Linked DNA regions of Homo sapiens: regions 1 and 2 are each linked to region 3. Evidence: promoter capture Hi-C in 16 types of primary human blood cells and fetal thymus (Javierre and others, 2016). All regions are on one chromosome and are shown on one strand. Each heading gives the region's core, a stretch centred on a gene start or on the middle of the fragment in contact. The rest is flanking DNA. Distances are from core to core; before and after follow the strand shown. Region 1 overlaps TRPM4 (transient receptor potential cation channel subfamily M member 4). Region 2 overlaps TRPM4 (transient receptor potential cation channel subfamily M member 4). Region 3 holds the start of LIN7B (lin-7 cell polarity scaffold B).

Region 1 (2,700 bases), core at 114-2,613, 78 kb before region 3:
GAGGAAGAGGAGAAGGAGGATGAAGAGGAGAAGTAGGATGAGGAGAAGGCGGAGGAGCAGGAGCAGGAGGAGGATGAAGAGGAGAAGTAGGATGAGGAGAAGGCGGAGGAGCAGGAGCAGGAGGAGGATGAGGAGGAGGAAGAGAAAGAGGATGAGGAGAAGGAGGAAGAGGAGGAGGATGAGTAGGAAGAGGAGGAGAAGGAGGAGGAGGATGAAGAGGAGGAGGAGAAGGAGGATGACGAGGAGGAGGAGAAGGAGGATGACAAGGAGGAGGACAAGGAGGAGAAGGAGGAGGAGAAGGAGGAGAATAGTGAAAGCTACAGAAACTAAGAACTCCTAGAGAAAGAAGGTCAGATGCAGAGAGGACAGCAAGCTCCCTACTGATAGAGAAAACCATCATGGTATTTCACAGTTCTCCTGCAGAATCCTGGTAAGAAGGGAGAGCGGTGGGTCAGAAAGCTTCCCCCACATCTGCCATCTTGAATCACCTCCAGCCAGGCCACAGGCAGGTTCCTGGGCTCAGCCCCAGCCTCTCTGGGGGGATCTTGGGATCTGTCCTTCAACAGAGCTCTCAGTGGGGGGGCTCCACAGGGGCTGAGAGCACAGACTCAGGTACAAGAGGATCTGGGATCAAATCTCGGCTCTACCATTTACCAACCACATGATCTGAGGCAAGTGACTGAATGACTCCATTATTTCACCTGCAAAATGAGAATAATTATAGGCCCTATTGCACTGGGTTGTTGGAATTAAACGAACTGATTTCCGGACGGGTGCGGTGGCTCATGCTTGTAATCCCAGCACTTTGGGAGGCCGAGGCGGGCAGATCACGAGGTCAGGAGATCGAGACCATCCTGGCTAACACGGGGAAACCCCAGCTCTACTAAAAATACAAAAAAATTAGCCGGGCGTGGTGGCGGGCACCTGTAGTCCCAGCTACTCAGGAGGCTGAGGCAGGAGAATGGTGTGAACCCGGGAGGAGGAGCTTGCAGTGAGCCGAGATCATGCCACTGCACTCCAGCCTGGGCGACAGAGTAAGACTCCATCTCAAAAAAAAAAAAAAAAAACCAACTGATTTTCAAAAGAATTGAGCACAGTAGTTGCTCATTGTACGTGTTTCATAACATCAGCTGTTATCAAGGTCGTCATCATCATCACATGTGCAGATGAGAAATTGCTAGGGAAGGACACCATTACTGATCCTGACCTCAGACACTGGGGCCTTCTATCAACCTTTCTCAGTGGTCCAAATGTTTATCTTAGTTTTTCCCTTCTCTCTTGATACATATTTTGTTCTTTTTTTTATTTTTTGACGTTTATTTTTAGTTCAGAGGTACATGTGCAGGTTTGTTAGGTAGGTAAATTTGTGTCATGGGGGTTTGTTGTACAGATTATTCCATCACCCAGGTATTTAGCCTAGTACCCACTAGTTATTTTTCCTGGTCCTCTCCCTCGCCCTACCCTCTGTCCTCCAATAGGCCCCAATGTGTGTTGTTTCACTCTGTGTGTCCATGTGTTCTCATCATTTAGTTCTTACTTATAAGTGAGAACATGGGGTATTTGGTTTTCTGTTCCTGTTAGTTTGTTATGGATAATGGCCTCCAGCTCCAACCATGTCACTGCAAAGGAAATGATCTCGTTCTTTTTTATGGCTACAGATAAATATTTTGTATCCTCTCTACATTGTCTTAAAAAACTATATATAGGCCAGGCATGGTGGCTCATGCCTGTAATCCCAGCATTTTGGGAGGCTGAGGAGGACAGATCACAAAGTCAGGAGATGGGGAGCATCCTGGCCAACATGGTGAAACCCCGTCTCTACTAAAAATACAAAAAAATTAGCTGGGCGTGGTGGCAGGTGACTGTAATCCCAGCTACTTGAGAGGCTGAGGCAGGAGAATCGCTTGAACTCAGGAGGCGGAGGTTGCAGTGAGATGAGATCGCGGCACCGCACTCCTGCCTGGCGACAGAGCAAGACTCCGCCTCAAAAACAACAACAAAAAAAGAAGTTTGATAAATATTCTATTTCATTTGCTTAGGCCTGACTTTTAAAATACCTTAACGGCAACCATAGCATAGTGATTAAAAGCAGGGGCCTTGGGACCACGAACAAAATAGGTGAAAAATCCCTCAATCAACTGATTCCGCTTGCTACAGAGGGATGGAAGTATGTGTAGCATGAAGAAAATCAATTTCTGGTGATGGCCTCCTTGATGGCAGAACCAAATCTTGAGCCAAGTCTTGAGCTTGGCACCTGGGAAGCTTCCTCAGTATCTCAGTCCCTGATGGGACGTGTGATATAGTTTGGATGTTTGTCCCTTCCAAATCTCACATTGAAATGTAATCCCTGGGCCAGGCATGGTGGCTCATGCCTGTAATCCCAGTACTTTGGGAGGCTGAGGCGGGCGGATCACAAGGTCAGGAGTTCAAGACCAGCCTGGCCAATGTGATGAAACCCTGTCACTACTAAAAGTACAAAAGTTAGCCAGGTGTGGTGGTGGGCTCCTGTAGTCCCAGCTATTCGGGAGGCTGAGGCAGGAGAATCGCTTGAACCCAGGAGGCGGAGATCACACCACTGCACTCCAGCCTGGTCGACAGAGCGAGACCCCATTTCAAAAAAGAAAGAAAGAAATGTAATCCCTGGCTGGGCCCGGTGGCTCACACCTGTAATCCCAGCACTTTGGGAGGCCAAAGTGCGCG
Region 2 (2,944 bases), core at 174-2,673, 97 kb before region 3:
AGGAGGGAGGGAAGGAGGGAGGAAGGGAGGAAAGGAGGGAGGGAGGAAGGAAGGAAGGAAGGAAGGAAGGAAGGAAGGAAGGAAGTAGGTTACATTACAGTGATTATTACTACTTGGGTTGGTGAGAACTAACTCAGCATCTTCCAGAGAAGTTGCAGTTGCCACACAACACTTGGCAATGTTTCAACGCTACTCTGCACCCACGGTGACAGATACTTGGATCTCCTCCAATTTGGAGGAAGGATGTTTGGTTTTGATTTTTGGATGTGTTGGTTGTTGGTGGCTTTCTTGCTATTTAACTAATGATTGCTGTCAGTTCAACCTTGTCATTACCAGTTTAGCTTGTTATGGGTTATTTAGTTAAGCTGCATGTATAATCACACATATTTGCCTCAACCCTGTGTGCGCCTGGCCTGCAATTTCCCACTAATTAGACTTTTTAAAGACACGTATGCATTTATCTACTCAAATTTGCATCATCCGTTTCCCTATTGCCAAAGCAGATGTACACAACACCCACCCACCTCCATTCCAGGAAATAATTTGCTTATTATCACTGAGTTATTTTTCCACTGGAAAGTTGAAACTGGGTGGGAGGGGGTACAGATGGGGTCTTGTCCTACTGAAGCGAGAGCCGTCAGAACAGTGCAGACAGAAGTGCTGGGTCTCCGGCAAGAACAATGGGGCTCAAGGGAGGAAACGGACTCCAAAATATCTGAATTACAGCAGCAAATCCACCAAGAACCCCAAACCCAACACCCCAGCTCCAGCTCCCATCCTGGATCTAGACACCCACCAGCTCCCCCAGGAATCAAGCCTCCGGACACGATTCCTCTGAAATGGCTTTATTTCCCCAGTGTGAGGAATCTGTGAGTGGTGAGGGGTCTGTGGTCCCTGTTACCCCAAGGACCCTGCAGCCTCCAGATGGATAACGGCCCGGGATCCAGGCCTTGATCCTCCCAGGCTGGGACTGGTTCTGGGAGGAGCCGGGCATGCTGTGGTTTGTAAGGATGACACTCCCAAAGGTGGTCCTGACAGTGGCCCAGATGGACATGGGGCTCACCTCAAGGACAAGGCCACCAGGTGCGGGGGCCGAGGCCCAGATGAGCCTTACTCTAGGAGCAAAATCCCCTGTGGGGGCTTCTCCTTGAAGTCCGCCAGCAGGGCTCAGTCTGGGGGAAGAGAGAAAAGAGAGAGCAGGTGATTGGCAGGGAAGGGGAGAGACAGAAAAACTGGGAGACTGGCAAAAAAGAAGAAAGACGAAGGCGAGAGTACAAAAGGCTCAAAGGAGACCAAGAGAGTGACCCAGGGACACTGGAAAGGTGCCGAGAGAGAAAAACACGCAAAAATACAGGAACAGAGGCTGGAGATGCACAGGCTGATGCTACACACTGACCTTTGGACCCAGGCAGGTCAGGGGGTGGCGGCCCACCTGGGGGCAGCAAGGCAGAGCGGCTCAGGGCCTCGGCCACCCACCCCAGGACGCGGCTACACTGCTGGACCTGCGGAATGGGAGGAATGTCAGAGCGGGAGATGGGACCCCTGCCACAGTCCCCCAGCCAGGCCCCAAGGCCTCACCTCCCGCTCCAGCACTTTCAGGCGCTGTTCGTACTCGCGGATGTGTCCCAGCTGTTTCAGTGCCAAGTCCACCCTGAGAAGGGAGGGCCTCTTACCGGGGGCACCCGCAGCCCACCCACCCCCAGGGCTCTGCCTGCTTCCCGGGCCTCCTCCCTCTCTCCCTCCCTCCCAGGACCCTGCCTTCAGCTGAAGTCAGGATCCGCCCCAGGCCAGAAGCCCCATCCCCGACCAGGCCCCGCTCTCACTTCTGGGACGTGCGCTTCAGACGCTCGGAGTCGCTCTCCCGCTTGTCCCTAGCGCGTGCCAGCAGAAAGTTCTCCTTATGCACCGATTCCCACGTTAGCAGCTTCCGCTCGGCTTCCTTAGAAAGGTAAACCCCTGCAGGGGCGGGCGGAGTCAAAGGGCTCAGGCCACGCCCCTTCCCAATCCCAGCTGCCCCTTCCGACACCCTCAGAACACGCACGCTATCCCAGACCCAGCCCCTGGTGATTCGAGAACATGCCCCGCCCCTCACCCGTAAGCACTGCCCCTCAGTGCTTAAGCTCCGCCCCTTGTTGCTTAAACCCCGCCCCTCGCTACCTAAGCCACGCCCGTTAGTCATTTGGGGCATGCCCCCTTCCCCTCGCCTTCCAGGCTCCCGGTCCCCTATATTTCTCCTTTTTAAGCCAAGCTCTGTTCTTACGGAAATGCTCGAGGGCCGGGGAGGACGGCTGGGGGCTCCGGGGTCGCCTGCACAATTGCCTGAGCAGGAGGCGCAAGTGGGAGATGACGATAAAGGGCGGGGCCAGCGCGGGCCGAGAGTGGAATTCCCGGATGAGGCGGTAACGCTGCGCCTTCCAGTAGAGATCGCTGTTGCCCTGTACTTTGCCGAATGTGTAACTGCAAAGGCCAGAGGTCAAAGGTCACTTGAGGTCAGGGCCCAGCCAGGGGCAAGGACGAAGGTTAGATGCCAGGCAATAATTGTTCAGTCTATAGCAGCAGACAGAAGTCAAGATCACTAAAGTCAGAGGTTACAGGATGCGATTAGAAGTCAGGTTAGAGCCAAGGGCGTTTGGTCACGCCTGTAGTCCCAGCACTTTGGGAGGCCGGAGTGGGCGGATCACCTCAGGTCAGGAGTTCGAGACCAGCCTGGCTAACATGGTGAAGCCCCATCTCTACTAAAAATACAAAAATTAGCCAGGCGTGGTGGTGGGCACCTGTAATCCCAGCTACTGGGGAGGCTGAGGCAGGAGAATCGCTTGAACCCAGGAGGTGGAGGTTGCAGTGAGCTGAGATCGTGCCACTGCACTCCAGCCTGGGAGACAGAGTAAGACTCCATCTCAAAAAAAAAAAAAAAAAAAAAAAGTCAGTTTAGAAGGGCCAAGGG
Region 3 (2,762 bases), core at 146-2,645:
ATCCACCTGCCTCGGCCTCCCAAAGTGTTGGGATTACAGGCGTGAGCCACCGTGCCTGGCCTCAATCTTACTTTTAAACAGAGGAAAGCCAGGCCTGGAGGGAGATCTGAGCCTCCGGACAGCAGCAAGAGGTAGCAGCATCTAACTATTGTGCAGTGAGAGGTCAGAGCGCCATGAGTTTCCTGGTTTGCACTGTACAGATGTTGAAGGTTATCTTCTACCAACCATGCCATACTGTTTCCATTTGCAGTTGCTAAAGATGCCTTAGTATGACATTTAAGTTAAAAATGTGCGATTATTTACTAATAGTAAGGTGGCACATAGATTTAGCAAAAATCATGAGGGAGGAAACAGAAATGACTGGCATGAAGGAGATATTGAGTTCGACTAGGCAGTTAAATAGACACCAGGAGCAATGGGGTGCGGGGCCCACCTTGGCTGTGGCATGGGCTCGGATCTCGGCGCTGCCGGTGATGTCCAGCGTGTCATAAAGCTGCTCATACACCTGGGTGAGGAGGCAGCGGCATCAGGGAGTCGCCAGCTCCTCCAGCCCTAGACGCAGGAGTTCAGGCCTCTAGACCCTCTCCCGCTACCACGCAAGGATCCGCCCCGCCCCCGCAACAGAAGGCCGAGAAAACTACAACTCCCGAAGAACCCCTGAGCTGAAGCGTTGGCACCCCAAGGCGGGCCGCCTCGGGAGCTGCCGGGAGGCGTAGTCTCCGGGCTCGGGACAAGCAGGAGGAGGAGGAGGAGGACGACGGCCACCAGCTCGCGCCCCTGCGCCGCGCGCCCCTCACCTCTCGGATAGCGGAGCAGAAGCGGCTCTGCAGAACTCGCTGGAGGGCCTGCAGCTTCTGCGGCGGCAGCTCCCCGCTGCGCTGGAGCCGCTCGAGGAGCTCAACCGCCCGGGACACGTCTGCGGGGCGGGGGCGGGGCGCAGAAACCCCGAGTGTCAGAGACCCCGAGACGCAGAGAAGCAAGGAGAGCGGCGGAGTGAGGCCGAGCGCACAGTCCGGGGAGGACGGCCGAAGCCTAGTCGGACACCCCGCAGAGTCCAGGGTGGCGCAGGAGAGACTGCCACCAGCGGCCCTGCGGCCCCGGGACCCCTCCACAGGCCGGGTTGTAAGGCGGGCGCCCAGCGTCCCGGCCCGCGCCCAGGGAGCCTCCCACACCTAGCGACCGCCCGGCCCCGGCGCCCGCCCCGCCCACCCCCTCCGGGTCCGCTGGCCCACCCGCACTGGCCTGACCCGGGAAGGGCGGGGACCGGGGGCTGGGTATGTAGGCCGCGGCCCGGGTGGGCAGGGCCCCCTGGCGCACGCTTACCCCGCTCCAGCCCCAGCGGCTCCACCAGCGCAGCCATGTCGGCGCCACAGCTGCCAGCCGCCCGCCTGCCCTGGCGCCGGCGAGGAGGGCGGGGCTGCGCGAGGCCACGCCCCGGGCCACGGGCGCCCCCTGCGGAGGCGCAGCCTGGAGAGCGCCCAGCTCTCCCTCGCCCGACTGCTCCGACCACCTGCCGCGCGCCAGCCGCGCCCTGCCCTCCGCCCCGGCCAGTCGGTCCTGTTGGCGACCCCTCCCACTGCAGGTTCGGTCTGTGTGTACCTTTCAGGATCCGTGTCTGCCTGCCCTCCACACCCGTCTATCCCCTGTCCATCCTTTCCCCACATTCATTCAACAAACTCTTGTGAAACATCTGAGCCCAAGTCATGGACACCGTGGTGAGCAGGACAGCCAAGCCCACGGCCCGAACGAAGCTTCCAGTCTATAGGGGAGGTAGACGACCAACTACGGCTGTGATGAGAGCTGAGAGTGGGGAGGTGATGATCTAGAAAACGAAGGAAATCCTAGAGGAGGGACATTGACATACAGTCCTGGGAGGTAAGATGAACAAGAGGTGGAGCTTGGGTCACCCCCACCACCCAGAAAGAGCCCACGTGGCTGGAAGCAGAGTTAGGATTGGTTGATGATGAGGTGAAAAGGTCGGCAGGATAGTTTATGCCTGGGCTCCTGCGTTGGCATATGCGCCTTGAGGATTTGGGGCTTCATGCAAACTCCTAAGAGAAAAATATGACACTCAAATTTGTATTATTATTATATTATTATTATTATTATTTTTGAGACGGAGCCTCGCTCTGTCGCCCAGGTTGGGCCTCAAATTTGTATTTTAAGATCACTGGGGCCGGGCACGGTGGCTCACACCTGTAATCCTAGCGCTTTGGGAGGCTGCAGCAAGACTACTTGAGCCCAGGAGTTCAAGACCAGCATAGGCAATATAGTGAGACCTCGTATCTATTGAAAAAAAAAAAATCACTGTAGCCACTGTGGAGACTGGTTTGGACAAGAACAAGAGGAGAAGCAGCGGGGCAACTTACGAGGCTACCACAGCCATCCAGGTGGCAGCTAGCACCAGGGCCAAAGCACAGAAGATGGGTGGGCAGATGTGGGAAATGTCTAGACAAGCCTTGGTGCTTGGCTATATAAGGGGATTGGGAGGTGCAGGAGAAGACAGTATTAAGGTGCTTTGGTGCCATTTTTAAGATGGTCTACACTGAAAGAGGGATACTGGATATTTTGTTTTTGAGACACAGTCTTCCCTCTGTTGCCCAGTCTCGAGTGCAGTGGCGTGATCTCGGCTCATTGCAACCTCTGCCTCCCGGGTGCAAGCAATTCTCCTGCCTCAGCCTCCTGAGTAGCTGAGAGTACAGGTGTGCACCTCCACACCTGCCAAATTTTTGTATTTTTCATAGAGATGGGGTTTCACCATG

What was found. Contacts are between HindIII fragments. The CHiCAGO score rates a contact against its expected background, and 5 or more counts as called.
Region 1: a fragment that was not itself captured here is called in contact with the fragment with the promoter of LIN7B in region 3 in 1 of 17 cell types (endothelial precursors); the score reaches 6.4 in endothelial precursors.
Region 2: a contact is called between a fragment that was not itself captured here and the fragment with the promoter of LIN7B in region 3, in 1 of 17 cell types (megakaryocytes). The highest score is 5.2, in megakaryocytes.

The regions. Positions count from the first base shown.
Region 1 is chr19:49,191,448-49,194,147 of GRCh38, reverse strand. All of the region lies in intron 16 of TRPM4 (transient receptor potential cation channel subfamily M member 4), which reads right to left. Among named protein-coding and RNA genes, the nearest start is that of TRPM4, 35 kb to the right of the region's middle. The HindIII fragment of the contact is 1,803 bases long and covers 462-2,264 here.
Region 2 is chr19:49,209,722-49,212,665 of GRCh38, reverse strand. It overlaps TRPM4 (transient receptor potential cation channel subfamily M member 4), which reads right to left. Exons shown (of 25, transcript NM_017636.4): 21 at 2,261-2,457; 22 at 1,824-1,956; 23 at 1,579-1,651; 24 at 1,397-1,502; 25 at 830-1,172. The coding sequence ends at 1,168. Among named protein-coding and RNA genes, the nearest start is that of TRPM4, 53 kb to the right of the region's middle. RefSeq lists an enhancer at 1,397-2,035. The HindIII fragment of the contact is 8,012 bases long and covers 1-2,944 here.
Region 3 is chr19:49,113,003-49,115,764 of GRCh38, reverse strand. It overlaps LIN7B (lin-7 cell polarity scaffold B), which reads right to left and starts at 1,395. Exons shown (of 6, transcript NM_022165.3): 1 at 1,324-1,395; 2 at 798-916; 3 at 434-505. The coding sequence starts at 1,360. RefSeq lists a silencer at 996-1,575. The HindIII fragment of the contact is 9,910 bases long and covers 1-1,753 here.